Regions from separate parts of the Homo sapiens genome. Here regions 2, 3, 4, 5, 6 and 7 are each linked to region 1. The links are contacts of gene promoters, found by promoter capture Hi-C in blood cells and fetal thymus (Javierre and others, 2016). All regions are on one chromosome and are shown on one strand. The core of a region is centred on a gene start or on the middle of the fragment in contact, and the rest is flanking DNA. Distances in the headings are between cores, read along the strand shown.

Region 1 (2,520 bases), core at 8-2,507:
GCGGGAAGAGCTGTTGAATGTCTTGTGATTAAGTAAAAGAACCTCTCACTTGAGGCCTACGGAGGTTGTGTTTAAGGGCAAGGTCTTGAAGGAAGGCTACGTTGCCTAGCCCTCCCCCATTGCCATCCCATATAGTCCTCCAGGAAAACTGTGATTTTAGCAAAGCCTTTCATGACCCACTCCATCTTTCTCTAAAGTCCAGTACCGCTTCATTAGTATTGACAAAAAAAAAAAAAAAAGGTAAATACTTCTTAAAGTTACGTGTTACAAAATCTTGTTTCCTTCATTCCGTTTCTATTCTTCAAGTTCCTTAAAAGCTGCGCCATTTTTTGAGTGAAAAATGTGCGTAACTTCTGATATCAGCGTAGAGAGGTGAGGGAGGGAGGGAGGGAATAAAATAAGAGGGAGGGAGGAAATACAAAAGAATCCTGAAGTTATGAATTATTTGGGTAACAGTATTGAGGTTTATTTTTGCTTAATGATGCTATATTTATGCAATAAAAACATTTGTCAATCTGTATTAATTCCTGGGAAAACGAACCACTTTTAGTCACTTAAAAAGCAAATCACTGACTTTAAAAATTAATTTCACCTTTTTCATTGGGGAAACCCTTTAAAAATTTCCAACTTGCACGAGAACTTCCCCCCCTTATTCTTCATACTCATTCATTCTAGAGATGAGTAAAATTAGGTTGCAATATCCCTGCTGCCTCCAGAGTACCTCTTTCACACAGTATTTTAAAAAATTATTTCCTTGTTTGCTCTTCAGTACCTCCACTCCTTCCTCCTGTGACCCTCCGACCATATTTACTCCTCCTACAAGACCAGGTCTCCAGTAATGAAATCAGTTTTCCAAGCAGTTACTTAATTAACGGCATTGAGTAGACAAGTGAGGTCCCGCCCCCTAGGAGGAGCTAACACCGCGGACCGAATCAGGCGGATGGTCGTTAACAAATGAACCCTTAATCTTTTCAGAGGAGGAAACATACACAAAGGCCCAATCAGAAGCCGCGATTTCAGGCGTCCGGAGGGGGCGGGGCTGGGCAAGCACCTCCCACTTCCCAACCTCCCGCCGCGGCCGACGGAGCCTCGCGGGCTCCAACAGGTCCCGCCCCCTCGCCAGGCGCGGCCGCTATTGGGCGGCGCGCTCCACACCGAAGCCTCAGTTGCTGGGAGAGGGAGGGCGGGGGCGGGGGCGGGGCCTGAGGTGGGCCAGGGGGATGAAGAGAAAGGCGGGGAGGCAAGGGCGGGCTGGGCGTATTCCACGAGCGCCTCGGCGGTTGGCGAAGCGGACGGGGTGCAGCCTCCCCGGTGCGAGGAACGGTCTCCGCTGACAGATACCCTCCTTCCGGCCGCGCCACTCGGGAGGCGGATCCCGTGGGCCTGAGGAGGCTTCCCCCGCCCGGTTTGCTTTCCCTCCCTCGCTGGCGCTGCCGCGAGTCCACCGAGCGGCCTCTGAGGAGCAGCCGCAGGAGGAGGAGGAGGTCGTCGGGGGCGGCGGGCGGAGACCGCGCTCTCGCTTCCCCGGCGGCGGCAAGGGCAGGACAATGGAGGTGGCGGTGGAGAAGGCGGTGGCGGCGGCGGCAGCGGCCTCGGCTGCGGCCTCCGGGGGGCCCTCGGCGGCGCCGAGCGGGGAGAACGAGGCCGAGAGTCGGCAGGGCCCGGACTCGGAGCGCGGCGGCGAGGCGGCCCGGCTCAACCTGTTGGACACTTGCGCCGTGTGCCACCAGAACATCCAGAGCCGGGCGCCCAAGCTGCTGCCCTGCCTGCACTCTTTCTGCCAGCGCTGCCTGCCCGCGCCCCAGCGCTACCTCATGCTGCCCGCGCCCATGCTGGGCTCGGCCGAGACCCCGCCACCCGTCCCTGCCCCCGGCTCGCCGGTCAGCGGCTCGTCGCCGTTCGCCACCCAAGGTGAGAACCGGCCGCGGCCGCTGGGGAGCCCGGGGAGAGGGCCAGGAGGGGGCGGGCGCCCTTGTGCGGCGCGACCCGCTGTCATGTCGCCGCCGCCCGGGGTGCGCGGCGGGGGAGGGGCGAGCAGGAGGGTCTGTGCTGGCGACGGTGACATGGAGGGCCCGCGCTCTGCGGCGTGTCGCGCTCGGCCAGCAACTTCCCCGGGCGCTGTGGACTTGACCGCGCCGCCGCCGCCGCCGCTGCTCCGCATTCTCAACAGCCGGGCGGCCCCTGCCACTCGCACTTTTGCAGACCTCTGTCGGAGTCTCCTGCAGCCGGAATCTCGGGTTCTTTGCCGGCTGCAGCCAGTTAACTGCTACCCGCCCGCTGCCTCCACAAAGCTTTGTCCAGGTCCATATGATCCTGATCATCTCGTCTATACTCACGTTATTTGAGCTGCAGGGGAGAAGGGAGGGATGAAGATGAAGTGATGGTGACTTTCTTTGATGATTGATTGCAGATCGGATGTCATTTATTTCTTATCTTGCATGTTTGGGGCTCTTTACCTTAATGAGTTCCCAGTTCTCTTCCCTCTCCTCTGCTGGGGACAAAGGAACCAAGAGACGTTGT
Region 2 (2,520 bases), core at 16-2,515, 440 kb before region 1:
CTGCCCCCATCATCCAATCATCTCCCTTTCTCGACACATGGGGACTACAGGTCCCTTCCTCAGCACATGGGAATTACAATTCGAGATGAGATTTGGGTGGGGACACAGAGCAAAACCGTATCACTTTTCATTTTTGAGACAGGGTCTCACTCTGTCACCCAGGCTGGAATGCAGTGGTGTGATCATGGTTCACTGCAGCCTTGACCTCCCAGGCTCAAGCAACCCTCCTGCTTCAGCTTCCCAAGTAGCTGGAACTGTAACCAACCATCCCCATTTTTCTAAGAGATAATTTATTTTTTCTATCTTCTTTTCTCTTTCCTCCTTTTCCCACTTTCTAGTTAGTCCTTTAGAAATGCAAATATAGCCTTTTACCTCCCCTTCACCAGACATTCCCTACAGGGTAAGTTCATCTAACTATCTGCTTAGGAGCTCCAGAAAGGAAATCTCACCCACCAGGAGGTTGCCTTGAGAGATAACAGTCAATTTACAACCCAAAGTACACATGCCCACAAAGACACAGGCAGTCACCACCTTGACTACCTAGTAGATAAGGTACCAAACTAACATGTAGATGCTGCACTTGCTTACTTCCCCCGACCCCATGTGCCATTCATGTTAAGCCCCCTTTAAAAGTGCTTACTTCCTGCTCCAAAAGCAAAGTGATACCCCTAGGCAGGAAGCCTGTACTTGTTCCCCTCAGCTAGCTTTGGAATAATTTAAAAAAAAAAAATCACTTTCTTTATACCAGAACTCACTTTTATTAACTGGACTCTGCAAGCAGCAAATAGCTGAACCTGCATTTCGGTTACAATTTTGGTGGCCCATATAGGGAAAGTGCTGCATGCTCTGGGTGAATCTGTGCCTGACAGCCGGCTTTTGCTACCGGGCAAGGTTTTGTTGGGGTCACCTGTGAGCACCAGCTGCTCATGGCTAGCAGATCTCATGACAGGAACATTCAGGAACTTCTCAGCAGCTGCCAAAAATGCTTTTGGTTTGGGGGAGCCTCCCTTTCGCCTCACAGCACATTTGCTGCCTTCAACTCTCTGCTGGTATAAAGAAAGTGACCTCTGTAAGACCCGGCAAACTTTGGAAGTGGCTGAGTTAGCTGGAAGTGCACCTGATCACCCTCTGCTTCTTTTGGGGTGTCACTGGGGCCCGGTTCTACCTAAGACTTGGCTGCTAGTGACACCATTTGAGCATTTTAGGTGTTTCTGTTTGTAAGTGTGGCACCATGGGAGCTTTGCTGGGCCTATGGAACCATTTGGACCTGGGGAGGGGCATTCAGCATCTCACTCAGCCTCCTTGATTGGAGACTCATTTGGAAGTATGCTGTTTGTTTGCATGTACTTTGTGAATGGGCCCTGATTTCTTTCTTTCCTCTCTACCTCCAATCTCACTCTTCTAACTATCTTCAGAGAGCCACCTACAGCCTTAGTCCTCTCAACTGCAGGCTTCCCTAGCTCCCTATGACTGGAAACAGCTCATCTTGACCAGTGACTTGTGAAGGTGGGAGGGTCCCATCCCATATCATGTGGACCTGGGGTGCTGAGGCTCTCCTGAATGGGAGATAAACAGGGGTGATGGGAGTATCAACCCTGTGCCGTGTAGTGGCTGGAAGCTCACGAGCTCCCTTTCTATCGCTTTACTGTTTCTTCTTATTTCCTTTTCCTCTTTCTCATGCCCTGCTTGTAAAACCTGGCTCCTATGCAGAGGCTGGCCAGACTATATATTCCTCTATTTTCTTTTCTGCCTGCTTTAAATCTGCTGTTACTTTACCGGTGTTAAGACAAAAACCACCATTTGGATTCAACTGTTTTTTAATAAACAGATGAGTTTGCATTGATATCTCTTAGCTAGAGTTCAAAAATGAAAGCTATAAGATCTTTGTTTATATGAGTGTGTATATGTGTGTTTATGTGTACACACATGTATTTTGTTATATGTTGCTGCTACAAGGTACCAAATTGACTTGAAGTTAAGGAGTACTCATGAGACTTAAGGAAAATCTTGAATAAATAAGCTGGCTTTAAAATTATTGGTAAAATAATATTAGAAATGTCTTATGAATTGTCAATATACATTTTTGTTCAGATTTATTGATCAAGTGGTTTCATACTTATCTCTGCCAGATATTATAAGGCATCAAAATTTGGCATAAAAGTTAAAAAACTATAAACCTAGCCCCAAAAAGAATGATCTTTGCTTGTGTAATTTTTGATAAATAGGACATTTAATGTTGTTTAATAGAAACAGCTAAATCTTCTAAGTCGGCAGTCCCCAACATTTTTGGCACCAGGGACTGGTTTCGTGGAAGACAATTTTTCCATGGAGCCCGGGAAGAGGGTAATGGTTTGGGGATGATTCAAGCACATTACATATATTGTGCACTTTATTTCTATTATTATTACATTGTATATATAATGAAATAATTCTACAACTCACCACAATATAGAATCAGTGGGAGCCCTGAGCTTGTTTTCCTGTAACTAGACTGTCCCATCTGGGGATGATGGAAGATAG
Region 3 (2,520 bases), core at 10-2,509, 450 kb after region 1:
AAAAAAAAAAAAAAAAAAGCTTCCCAGGTGCCAAGCCACCCTGCTTGTCCTTATTAAACTAAACAAATAACACTTTTAGAAAAAAAAAAATAAAACAAGAGAGAGATCCTTGCTTCTAAACCTCACCCTATTCTGGGTCAGAAGATTGTCAGTTCCTGTTAGACTCTGCCCTGAACTTGATGTATGAATTTTAAAGAAAGTCAGTCCTTTTTGTTCTATAACTCAGTGGGATATATTCCCACAGCCAAATTTGAATCCCTTTCCATTCATTCTTTGCCAAGAATGTAAGGTACATTTTGCCCTAAATTTAGGAAACAAGAAAGGCAGCATCATTCTCAATACGCCTGCATAGACTTCTTCTCCTTACAGTTCCCAAAATATTACATAAGTTAAACATACCTGTTCTGACCCAAGAGGACTTCAGCAACTGAGATAAGTTGAGCTGTGGATACTGGAAGGCTACAAAAGGGAAAGAATTAGGGAAGGAGAAAAATATCTGTAAAAACAAAGCCATGTTTACAACAAAGTCCCAACACATCGTCTTTACTATTTAGCTCTAAATGTGAAAGAACAAAATGTCAGATTAGCGTGAGGACGTGGACAGTAGCCATTTCTGAACACATTAGTCTCAAGGAAAAAGAGAGAGATAAAAAGAAAAGAAGGGCCGCTCCAGCTATGTCACAGGACACTGCTTCACAGAGAGGTCACCGGCAAGTTCTCCTTTGAATGTCACTGTTCCACAGCAATCCATGTTCACACCGTGCCCCTCAGAGCCCTGGCTTTCCCAGCAAGGTCTCAGGGTAAAGTGACCACATGCGTTGACCTGCCCAGGACCAGCCAGTGTGCCCCGCCGTCCGGCATCCTCATTTTAGCCATACACACACTGAGCACAACTGAAAGCGGCTCTTTGTAAATAACAGCTTTATCTCTGTCTACTTTCATATAGAATAACTTCTGTAAAGTTATTCTTTTTAGTTTAATTAACAATACACTAAAATACACTACGAATCATTAGGCCATTTGGTTGTTTCATTTTGAAAAAGAATTGGAATTTTTTGGCCTGATTTCAACTCTGGAATCTACTATTTTTTTTTTTTAAATAAACGTCTCCCCTTTCCCCCACTGCCTCCATTGGCATTGTGAAGCTAGTTGCTTCAGTCAGGAAGAAAGGTTTCATGTTTTCACTTATTGTTTTTATTTTAAAATTTACACAGTAAATGTCACTCTTTTCAGTATACAGTTTTATGGGTTTTGATAAATGTGTATATATTCACATAATCATCACCACAATGAAGATATAGAACAGTTTCACAACCCCCAAAACACTGCCTTCTGCTACCCTTTTGTAGTCAAACTTTCCTGCGGCCCTTAAGCTCTGACAACCACAGATTCGTCCTCCCTAAATTATGCCTTTTCCAGAATTCGTGTACTTTTTGATAGCACCCCTTTACTCTCCAAATAATAAAGTCAGGCACGGTGGGTGAGCAGGGCTCTGCAGACCCATCTGGCCTGAATCCAGTTTTATCAGATTTATATTCTGGCACTCAAATCAGATATTTCATTTGAAAAAAGTGGTCCAGGTGAAAATACTCTGTATGATACTAAAATGGAGAATCCATGCCATTTGCATGTCATTACACATTTGTTCAAACCCACAGAATGCACGACACCCAGGGTGAACCTTAATGTAAACTATGGGCTATGGATGATGATGCAGGTTCAACCAATGATGCAGGATCAACCAATGCAGGTTGATCACTGTAACAAATGGGCCACTGTGCTGGGGGATGCTGATAATGGAGGTTATGAATGTGCGGAAGCAGGAGGTATATGGGAAATCTGTGAACTCTCCGATCATATCTGCTGTGAATCCAAAAACTTCACTAAAAAAACTCAAGTCTTTTACTATTATTCTAAGTGAAATAATTCAGGAATGGAAAACCAAACATCGTATGTTCTCACTGATATGTGGGAGCTAAGCTATGAGGACACAAAGGCATAAGAATGATACAATGGACTTTGGAGACTTGGGGGGAAGAGTGGCGGGAGGAGGGATAAAAGACTACAAATGTGGAGCAGTGTATACTGCTCGGGTGATGGGTGCACCAGGATCTCAAAAATCACCACTAAATAACTTACTCGTGCAACCAAATACCACCTGTACCCCAACGCCTTATGGAAAAATAATTTTTAAAAAATCAAGTCTTTTAAAAAACTAAAAAAATTTTAAGAAGAGGTCTTCCACCAAAAATGCCCGCCATCACCTCCCCAGCATGTCCAAGAGGGCTGTACTCACGCTCTGCGATCTGCAGCACTGGGTATCCCAGATAGAAACTGAACTCCACCACACTCAAGTTTCTGAGCAGCTCGCTCACTTCCGACCCATTCAAAAATCCCTGTGTGCTTTTAACCGCAAAGATGATATTCACCGGGCCCCGCCGAGGAGTCACCCTTGAGGAACTGATGGTGATATTCAAGATCTGAAAGAATAAAGTCAGAATAAGCTTCTATAATAAAACA
Region 4 (2,520 bases), core at 8-2,507, 430 kb before region 1:
AAAAAAAATTAACCTGAAAACTGAGTCATGCAAGAAGCTACTTTCCATTTTGTTACTAAGCAGCAAGCTACAGATAAGTTAAAAATCTCCACAAGTAGCTATTCTGTGGTCACCTTATGGTATAGTGAGCACAGGATGAATACATAATTGACTATTCCCCTACCTACTTTTTTTCTCTTACAACATGTGGATTCAGTAATGTGACCATATCCTCCCTCTGTCTCCTCCAGCCTGCTTTTCCCCTTTAAGTACTGAAGCCCTCAAAATCATCTTTGGAGAAAGAAACAGGCCTGTCTCCCAGGCACACATCCTTCACTTTGGCAAAATAAAGTTCTAATCAATTGAGACCTCTCTTGAATACTTTTTGGTTTATAAATTGGCAACCCAGGTAAGGGACTCTGAGTGGAGGTGTCCCTTACCTTTGACAAATCTCCTATTGGTGCTTGGTACCAGCGTGAACGAATATCTTTATTGCTCAAACCAACAGGACATTTTGCTGAGGTCTGGGAGCTACTCCCCTCCACAGAATCCTTGATCTCCCCAAATTTGGTTGCGATTTAAGGTTTATTTTGCTGTACAACTCCTTTTTCTGGAGTTTTATTCACTTCCAACAAGAAGGCCAGCTTTTTTGCTTCCATGACGATGGAGAGCAGCCAACTCATTCCTGGAGCTTCAGCTCACTTCCAACAGGGAAGGAATGTTTGAGATTTTTCCTGCTTCTAAGATGGTAGAGCGCAGTCTTCAGCCTGGGCCCCATTCCTAGATAAGTAGCTGAATTTGGGTTTTGTCTTGGAAATTCTCCTTAATGACTAAAGTTAACATTAACAACCAGCTGATCTTAATTTTTCCTTACCATTAGAGTATTCAGTTATTGTATAAATTATGCAATTGTTTGTTTTGCTAACTGTTTTTTGTTTCTGTTTTTGTTGTTGTTTTGATCTTTTTCCTTCGGGTTTGACCAACTCTACCCAACTTGATCAAGTCTGAAAAAAAGTTCCAAATTATGCGGAACAAAGCCTCTGAATTAGCTAAATTCCCATAGCCGGGGGGGAAAAAAAACGGCCAGCAAAAAAAGAAAGAGTTTTACTACTTGAGGGACTGCATTTGCATAACTAGGCCACCTTTTGCTAGCCAAGCCAAACTGATAGAGCAATGACTTCACATTGTAATCAGTAGCTAAGATTCCACCCTGTTTTTCACCATGACAGCCTGGGTTGGTTCCTAAATCAGGTTATCTCTGGCTTGACATTTCTGTTACTTTTGAAATATCAGTAGTTTGTCCCAGCTAAAAAATGGTATTGAGATTTAAAAGGATTTTTTAAGAGCTCAAAGGTTAAAAGTCTGCTTAATTAAAAGCTAATATCCAAGATGTAAATGTGTCTCTGTGTGCATTTTCATATTTATATATTACCTATATAATATGTAATTCATATTTATATATTATCTATAATATAAAATTCATAATATAATATGTATAATGTATATATATATATTTAAAAGGCCTTTATGTTTTCTTTCTCTCTAGGGTCTTGTTTTTTGAGAAAAAGGTTTTTTTCTTCGCAGTTGACTGAATTATGTTTTCTCCATTTACTTCTACCTGTCTCTCCTTCCTCTTGCCACCCTCTGCTGCATGAGGGAACTAAAATAATTTCTTTTTTTTTTCGAGATGGAGTCTTGCTGTAGTTGCCCAGGCTGGAGTGCAATGGTGTGATCTCAGCTCACTGCAACCTCTGCCTCCTGGGTTCAAGCAGTTCTCCTGCCTCAGCCTCCCAAGTAGCTGGGATTACAAGTGCCTGCCACCACACCTGGCCAATTTTTTTGTATTTTTAGTAGAAATAGGGTTTCACCACGTTGGCCAGACTGGTCTCGAACTCCTGACTGCCTTGGCCTCCCACAGTGTTGGGATTACAGGTGTGAGCCACCATGCCCAGCCAAACTAAAATAATTTCTAACAGCCTGGGCTTCCTTGAAGAAAACAGAAGGTGCTAGACTCCTTTTTGGGGCAAAACCTCTGTTTTTTTTATGACCCCCAAGAGTTTAAACAGACAAAGTCCTCTCATATCATAATCTGCTTGCTTTTGTATTGTGTTACCTGATTTTTTTTTTTTTTTTTTTTTTTGAGACAGAGTCACTCTGTTGCTTAGTGCAATGGCACTTAGGCTGGAGTGCAATGGCACGATCTTGGCTCACTGCAACCTCTGCCTTCTGGGTTCAAGCAATTCTCCCACCTCACGCTCCTGAATAGCAGGGATTACAGGCATGCACTGCCACACCCAGCTAATTTTTTTGTTTTTTAAATAGAGACAGGGTTTCACCATGTTGGCCAGATTTCTCTTGAACTCCTGACCCCATATGATCCTCCTGCCTTGGTCTCCCAAAATGCTGGGATTGCAAGCATGAGCCACTGTACCCAGCCTTACCTGATTTTTTTTTTTTTTTCTAAAATAGTTATTACAACAGGGATACTCTTGGGTGTTTAACATAAGAAAGGGTGTGTTAGTCCGTTTTCATGATGCTTAT
Region 5 (2,520 bases), core at 11-2,510, 410 kb after region 1:
TTACCCTCAAGCACTGTGTGGTGCACTGGAGTCTTGTCACCATCCCCCAAAGCAGGGAAAAAAAGTCACTCGAACCTTGGAAATCGGCCAATGACAACTTTAAAGAGACATCTGATAACCAGAAAAGAATATTTTCCTCCTTTAGAGATCTTTAATAAATAGGACTGACAGATATAAAGAGGATAATTACCTAGTGTCACCAAAACAAGTTACCTGACATGAGACCCCCTGCCCCCAGAGTGGTATCCCCAAAGACGGAAACCTGAACTGCGTTGAAGCGTGAGGAGGATCAGAAGCTGAAGTGGCTCTTTCTGAGGAGGGCAGCCCCTGGTCGGCCGCACTAACACTTTTCTGCATGTCTGCCAATGCGCCCCAGAGTGTCCATGCACAGTATCTGATCTCCAACAAGCGTGATGTTTTACATTAAGAATCCTTGTCAGCAGCTTATGCCTTCAGTAACTAGTTGACACTGTACCTTGCACTCATTTTCAAACACAGACCCAATAAGTGTGTGAGTTTTTTTTGTTTTTGTTTTTGTTTTGAGATGGAGTCTCACTCTGTCAACCAGGCTGGAGTGCAGTGGCGAGATCCCGGCTCAGTGCAAACTCCCCCTCCCGGGTTCAAGTGATTCTCCTGCCTCAGCCTCCTGAGCAGCTGGGATTACAGGAACCCGCCACCACGCCCAGCTAATTTTGTATTTTTAGTAGAGATGGCGTTTCACCATGTTGGCCAGGCTGGTCTCAAACTCCCGACCTCAGGCGATCTGCCTGCCTTGGCCCCCCCAAGTGCTGGGATTACAGGCATAAGCCACCGGGCTTAGCCGAGTTTTTTAAGTAACAGACTTTTAAATAAAAGCAAATACCTCTTTGTTGATTTTATTGCTTTCCGCCACTCGGTCGGCTGGGGAGGGGCGCTGGACGGGAGGTGCCGGGATCGGCTGCATGGCGATAAGCTGGATCTTACTGGGGACCCGCCGGCTAGCCTCCGGGGGGCGGGAGATCCTGTCCACGTGCTCGAAGATGGAGGCTGATGAGTGCTGCTCATTTCCCGAACTGGGCAGTGGTGGCCCTGGAACAGAAGGAAAAGCAAAACACATACACGAAGTCATCTAAAGAAACAGCAACTAATCAAAATTGTGAATTATTCTTTAAAGAATCTTTGGATGGGCCTCTGACCAAAAATACATCCCCACTGCAGTAGCAGAGTGTTTACAATTTCACTCTCTGAGCTTAAATAGTCTGGGCTATATACTGTATCCTCTAACTTCATTAAAAATTACAAGTACCCTAAGAAGAGACGTGAGGAAATCATTATGATACTGTGTGAAAAACTGCACTGTTTTGTCTGTGGTTCAAAATCTTCATTCAGAAAGAATATAGGACAGAAGGAGCCTGAAGTTGCTCAGTAGTCAATAAGCCATTCACAGAACTCTCAGAAAACACATTTATAGCGGCTCTGAACTATTGCTACCATCTGGCAGGGAGCTCGCTGGAGTGATACAAATTCAGCTGCCAAGGCAATGTCGTACTACAGAGAAAACAGAAGACCAGTACGTGCAGGCAGGTACCAGTTAACAGTGACCACACTTCTGACTTTTCAGTTCTGATGTGGAAAGAAAACGAAGTTGAAGACACATGAGAAGAAAAAACCTGTTGCTTGCAGGGAATTAGTTCCTACTTTATTTATTTTTTTAATTTATTTTTTATTTTTTTGAGACGGAGTCTCACTCTCTCGCCTAGGCTGGATAGTGATTCTCCTGCCTCAGCCTCCTGAGTAGCTGGAATTACAGGAGCATGCCACCATGCCTAGCTAACTTTTGTATTAATACTTTTAGTAGAGACAAGGTTTCACGATATTGTCCAAGTTGGTCTTGAACTCCTGACCTCAAGTGATCCACCTGCCTCGGCCTCCCAAAGTGCTGGGATTACAGGCAGGAGCCACCGGGCCCGGCGCTAGTTCCTACTTTAAAAACAGTTGAAGAGTACATGTATAAATGGTTACATGGCAAATTTTAGGCCATGTATATTCAACCACAATAATTTTCTTAAAAACTAATCAGAACTGTGAAAAAAAAAAAAAAGAAATTCAAATGCACAAAAAAAAAGACAGAAAAGAAACACTTAAAAATATTAACAGAGACTGAATCTTCACATGATGGGTGATTTTTCCCCATGTCTTTTATTTTTGATAATGAGGATTTTCTGTAATAAGTATTATTTTTACAGTAGAGATAATCCCAATACACTTTAATTTTGAAAAAAGAGAAAGAGAAAAATGAAGACGGGCTGAGTAGAAAGAGCTAGTTACTCACACTTAAGAAGATCAACTGGCCAGGCACAATGGCTCATGCCTGTCATCCCAGCACTTTGAGAGGCTGAGGCAAGAGGATTGCTTGAGCCCAGGAGTTTGAGACCAGCCTGGGCAACATAGTTAAGACCTTGTCTCTACAATTTTTTTTAATTAGTTGGGCGTGGTGGCACATGCCTGTAGTCCTAGTCACTCAGAAGGCTGAGGTGGGAG
Region 6 (2,520 bases), core at 16-2,515, 390 kb before region 1:
AAAGGTGCACAGTAAGCATTTGTTGTATCAATTTAAAAATGATATTAAAGACCATTACTGCTATGTTCCACATTGCCACAGCCTAGTTTAAATTACTGTGTCTAGCTGAATACTGAACATGTTATATATACGTTATGTGTTAATGTGTACATAAGCAAGAATGACTGTTGGAGGGAGGGCAAGTCAATTATAGACAAACTTTATTGCTGAAATACCTGGAGTTCAGTCAAGATTGTGATGCTCCCTGCACGGAATGCCAATCACTAAGTCAACAAGGATTGCCAGAGAAGAAGGCTTTAATCTAGTCCTGCAGTCAAGGAAAGTGGGAGTTCAGTCTCAAATCTGTCTCCCTGACTGACCAAAATTGATCTGTTTACATAGCAGGGAAGGTGCGAAAAGAAATTAGGGAGGGATAAAGAAGAAATCCTGATGAATCAGGTATTTGGTATCTCAGTATCAGGATGTGGTGATCTAGTGAGTTTCAGTCCCTTGCCTGAGGGTCAGTTTCCTGAGGAAAAAACTCAGTTAAGACATAAGTTTCAAGTTTTAAGACAGAGGGCACATTTCTATGTTTATTCAAAAATCCATAAATATGGGACAATTTGGCCAGTTTCAACTTCAGGACATTTTAACCATTGTGGACTCAGTGACCTGTGAAGTGTACAGGCCAGGGAAACTTCCTCTTTGCCTTCTGAAGTTTCACTGAAAAATCAACTCACAAAAGGCAGATTAATTGGAGAAAAGGTATTCAATTTTATTTAACTATATGTTTACACAGGGAGAACCACAGAGTGATTACCCACCCACAACAGGGTTTAGAAGCTTATTTACTGGTAAATCAGGTTATGGGAGAGGGGAAAAGAGGAATTCTGTTGAGGAGATCACTAGGGAGAATGAATGGATCAGGGAGTAGAGATTAACTTGTACATTACCTTGTGAAAGGGTTTGTTCAGGAAAGGTTACATTCTTAGTCTTACAGGGAGAGGAAGAAAAACGAATTGTTCCTTTTGGTGGGTCTGGATCTTAGGCAGATAAAGGAACTTCACTTTGGGAGAGGTGGTAGGGAGTAGAGGTCAGAGGGACCTTGAGGCTTTTCCAGTTCAGTATGTCAAAGTGCCATATTTTGGGGTATCAGTTTCTGACTCCCAACACATTCTTTGTCTTCTTTTTTTGTAATGGATCATGAGATAACAGGTAGGGGAAAAAGAACAATTGTCCTCCTTGGTGGGTCCATCCTATCTTTATGTAGACAGGGGAAAGTCTCTTCCAGAGCCCGTTGATCTCTAAGGGTCTTTACTTCAAAATCTTCATTATACCAGGGAGCCATATGTTGGGGTGGAATTTCCTGCCTCCTTCAACCCCCAGCTCCAAATTTGGAAATGGCTTCTAATTTTTTTAAGGAAATGTCTTTTATTTCCTTTGGCCACTGTGATTGATTTCACGATGGATCCATGAACCAAGAAAGGCAATCAAGGCTAACAAGTTTCAATTTCAGGACTACTGTTTGAGCTACTGAGAAAGTAAAATCTCTTTTTCGTTGTTTGAGCTGGAAACCTTGTCACTCCAAGGACAGTCAGTAAACACTTTTCAATGTTAAGGGAACTGAGAGAGAGAGTTTCCTGAGAGAACAGGAAGGCAGAGAGACGAATGAGAAGTGAGAAATTGGTCCTGGCCATGTTATTGTTCCTCTAGTCCAGTTTAACTGGTGATAAGCTTAACTTGTGATAAAGATCCTAGATCCCTTTCCAGTCCTGCTGCATCCAAATCTCCCAGGAAGTCCTAGAAAATGTCTAGTCTCCCCTGAAGCTAGCCCTACTGCCAGAATTTGAGGAATATGAACCAATAAATTTCCATTATAGTTTAAGAGAATTTAAGATAGATGTGTGTATTAGTTCATTCTCACACTGCTAATAAAGACAACCAAGACTGGGTAATTAACAAAGAAAAAGAGATTTAATGGGCTCACAGTTCCACATGGCTGGGGAGGCCTCACAATCATGGCAGAAGGTGAAAGAGGAGCAAAGGCATGTCTTACATGGCAGGAGGCAAGAGAGCATGTGCAGGGGAACTGTCCTTCATAAAACCATCAGATCTTGTGAGACTTATTCACTATCACAAGAGCAGCATGGGAAAAAAACACCCCCATGATTCAATTACCTCCCACTGAGTCCCTCCCATGACATTGGGGATTGTGGGAGCTACAATTCAAGATGAGATTTGGTTGAGGACGCAGCCAAACTATGTCAGTCTCTTATTTGCCAACAAAAGCATCCTAACTGATAGAGGCCAGACAGATTTGTTTCTTTTTGTTTTTTCAATCTTTTGTTGTGAAGAAGTAAGCATAAACTCTCAATAGGTTACGTTTTACAAGCCTCTGATGAAGTTCAAAGGACAACCATGCTTAGGATTTCCAGGACAACCTGGAAAAAAAAACAGGTTGAGAAATAGGTGTGTTAATCTCCCTTCCCTCTGCTCCTCCCTCTGGCCTTCCTTTCTTTGATGGAATAGGCCCTAGGACAC
Region 7 (2,520 bases), core at 14-2,513, 350 kb before region 1:
CAAAGTTACCAGTGACCTCCACATTGCTAGATCCAGTAATTCTCAGTCCTTGTCCCACTTGGTCTTTCAACCACATCTGATACAGTTAACAATATCTCCTTCTTCAAACATTTACTGAAAGGGAAAACTGTAGGGGAAGCAGTTTGAGAAGAACTATCAGGAGCTCAGTTTTGTAATATGAGATCCTCATTCACTTAGGATAATTTGTGCCATGGGAGAAAAAAAAGACCACTGAAAATTAATCCACATACGACAAGAAAAAACATGACACAGAAATAATGTAGAGAGGGTGAATTTGAAAGCTTATATTAAGATCGAAACCAAAGTTTATGAAAGTAAGTTCACTTCTATTCTCAACAAAATGTAGGTTACAATTGCAAGTTTATTAACTCAGAAGAAACAGTGAATCAGTGTTGATTTTTTTTAAATATGCTTGACAAAATTACATACCACAACATGACATCCTCTATTTCACAAAAGTTTTGCAGAATGTTCATAAAGAGAATAATTATCACAAAAATTTTGGAGGGCTTTATCTGAAGGAGATTTTTAATTCTTTAATTTTTTTTTCAAGTCACACTCTTTTGACATATCTATCAAAGTAGATTTTTAACTGTGCAGGATTCTTCTTTGAAAAAGATCATACCTATAATTAGAACAAATCTCCAAGATCATTTTCTTTGATTTCATAAAATCCTGCATCTTTGCAAGGTTTGCAACCTCACTTTGCCATTAGATTATTCCATATATTTACTGGATAAGAGGCTGATCCTCCAAGACTTAAAGGAGAGGACTAGTGTTTAGCAAAAAAGAAGTCTGAGTAAGGATTCATTTTATAGGCGATTCATTCATTTTTATATTGTGCACATTTTTGATTCCTTATGTAATCTCATAAATGCCAATAATTGGATAATAAATCATAAAAGAAAATGGTTCCCTGAAAAGAGTACTTGGAAAGAATCCATGGAGGGATAATTAAGTAAATCGTGTTCCATCTACACAATGAATACCATGGCTAAATGAATAAAGTCAGGTTGCATATTGTGATAGAACTATCACTGGGGTCACTAAGATATTATGTGAATAAAGGAAAGTTGTAGAATCATAAAGATATGGTCCAATTACTGCATTTTCCTCTTAATGTGTGTAGTATTTGGGAGGAATATCTGGGAAGGGAAATAAGAATGGGGTGATGAGTGACAAGATTTTCATTATTTATTCCATATGGGTCTATGTACTTCTACAGTGTTTCATTTCTTTGCAAAGAGCGTATATTTATGTACTACTTATATAATTAAAATCTATTAATAATTAAATATATTAAAAGTTAAAGGATAGAAAGATAAAATAATAAAGAGAAGATAGGTTATATACAGATAATCCAAATGTTAAAAATAAAAGGAAGTGAAAAAATATATATAAATGTTAATAAGGGACAATCATAAAACCAGAATATAAATAAAGTATAAAATCTAAGAAAAATAAAACAATGGAAATGTAATTAGAATAAAAAGGTAGAAGAGACATAAAAAATGAGAGAAAGGATTTCAACATAGCAAATTAAAAGTTAAAAACAAAGCAAATTAAAAGTTTTTTTAAAAAGCAAATTTAGGCCAGGCGTGGTGAGGCTCATGCCTGTAATTGCAGCACTTTGGGAGGCTGAGGTGGGAGGATCGCTTGAGTTCAGGAGTTTGAGACCAGCCTGGGCAGCATGGTGAAACCCCATCTCTACAAAAATTGAAAAATTAGCCAGGCATGGCAAAACATGTCTGTAGTCCCAGCTACTTGGGAAACTGAGGCATGAGACTAGCTTGAACCCAGGAGGTGGAGGTTGCAGTGAGCCAAGATGATACCACAGCACTCCAGCCTGGGTGACAGAGTAAGACCCTGTCTCAAAAAAAAAAAAAAATCATATTTAGAGACTCAGAATTTTTTAAGTGTAAGACAGTAGTTCAGAATCAAAAGACCAGCATTTCATACAGAAATAAGAATTCTTCACATTTGAAATTTTAGGGGATTTCATTAACATTTGTGGTTTCAGAGCATTTGGAATTTCTTGTAAGATGTCCCCAGAAAGACCGTCTCAAAAACAAAGGGCAGAACAGAGTATCCAGCTCCACCTCAGTGGGTAGCCCCCCAACACCAGCCTGACTCCTCTTAGACATTTGCAGAGATATTCATACATCTTTGGAAGGCTCCCACCGGTGGCCCCACTTTCTGATCCCAAGCTTGACCTTCAAAAATGTTCTATTATTTCCGTTATTTCAGATCTTTGACTTTTCTCTCACTGAAGAAGAAATGAAGGACATTGAAGCCTTGAATAAAAATGTCCGCTTTGTAGAATTGCTCATGTAAGTTCCGGGGATCATTAATGGGTATTGACCAGTGGTATTGAATGGTCATGTGTCAAGCAACAAGGCTCATAAGAACCCTGACCTATGTCCATAGCACCAGGGCAAAGCATGGTGGGCCGCATATTCTGAATGTTAACATGCCTGAGGGAAATACATCCACTACAGG

The links. The method cuts DNA at HindIII sites, captures the fragments that hold promoters and counts their contacts. A CHiCAGO score of 5 or more calls a contact.
Region 2: a fragment that was not itself captured here is called in contact with the fragment with the promoter of TRIM24 in region 1 in 1 of 17 cell types (total B cells); the score reaches 6.3 in total B cells.
Region 3: a contact is called between a fragment that was not itself captured here and the fragment with the promoter of TRIM24 in region 1, in 3 of 17 cell types (naive CD4 T cells, total CD4 T cells and fetal thymus). The highest score is 7.2, in naive CD4 T cells.
Region 4: a fragment that was not itself captured here is called in contact with the fragment with the promoter of TRIM24 in region 1 in 1 of 17 cell types (total B cells); the score reaches 5.3 in total B cells.
Region 5: a fragment that was not itself captured here is called in contact with the fragment with the promoter of TRIM24 in region 1 in 2 of 17 cell types (naive CD4 T cells and total CD4 T cells); the score reaches 6.3 in naive CD4 T cells.
Region 6: a contact is called between a fragment that was not itself captured here and the fragment with the promoter of TRIM24 in region 1, in 1 of 17 cell types (M0 macrophages). The highest score is 8.9, in M0 macrophages.
Region 7: a contact is called between a fragment that was not itself captured here and the fragment with the promoter of TRIM24 in region 1, in 2 of 17 cell types (M0 macrophages and M1 macrophages). The highest score is 7.1, in M0 macrophages.

The regions. Positions count from the first base shown.
Region 1 is chr7:138,459,002-138,461,521 of GRCh38, forward strand. It overlaps TRIM24 (tripartite motif containing 24), which reads left to right and starts at 1,258. Exons shown (of 19, transcript NM_015905.3): 1 at 1,258-1,911. The coding sequence starts at 1,548. RefSeq lists enhancers at 1-223, 627-1,409 and silencers at 920-1,309, 1,370-1,619, 1,650-2,129. The HindIII fragment of the contact is 2,319 bases long and covers 1-2,289 here.
Region 2 is chr7:138,014,389-138,016,908 of GRCh38, forward strand. All of the region lies in intron 2 of LOC124901752 (a long non-coding RNA gene), which reads left to right. Among named protein-coding and RNA genes, the nearest start is that of CREB3L2, 14 kb to the left of the region's middle. The HindIII fragment of the contact is 3,189 bases long and covers 1-2,520 here.
Region 3 is chr7:138,904,623-138,907,142 of GRCh38, forward strand. KIAA1549 reads right to left here. Exons shown (of 20, transcript NM_001164665.2): 6 at 2,297-2,480; 7 at 400-459. Among named protein-coding and RNA genes, the nearest start is that of KIAA1549, 76 kb to the right of the region's middle. The HindIII fragment of the contact is 2,485 bases long and covers 18-2,502 here.
Region 4 is chr7:138,032,295-138,034,814 of GRCh38, forward strand. No RefSeq gene overlaps it. Among named protein-coding and RNA genes, the nearest start is that of CREB3L2, 31 kb to the left of the region's middle. RefSeq lists an enhancer at 1-145. The HindIII fragment of the contact is 5,322 bases long and covers 1-2,520 here.
Region 5 is chr7:138,870,295-138,872,814 of GRCh38, forward strand. KIAA1549 reads right to left here. Exons shown (of 20, transcript NM_001164665.2): 13 at 863-1,068. Among named protein-coding and RNA genes, the nearest start is that of ATP6V0A4, 73 kb to the left of the region's middle. The HindIII fragment of the contact is 3,494 bases long and covers 1-2,520 here.
Region 6 is chr7:138,073,941-138,076,460 of GRCh38, forward strand. AKR1D1 (aldo-keto reductase family 1 member D1) reads left to right here and starts at 2,519. Exons shown (of 9, transcript NM_005989.4): 1 at 2,519-2,520. The HindIII fragment of the contact is 891 bases long and covers 821-1,711 here.
Region 7 is chr7:138,111,422-138,113,941 of GRCh38, forward strand. AKR1D1 (aldo-keto reductase family 1 member D1) reads left to right here. Exons shown (of 9, transcript NM_005989.4): 8 at 2,269-2,351. Among named protein-coding and RNA genes, the nearest start is that of MIR4468, 11 kb to the right of the region's middle. The HindIII fragment of the contact is 1,926 bases long and covers 301-2,226 here.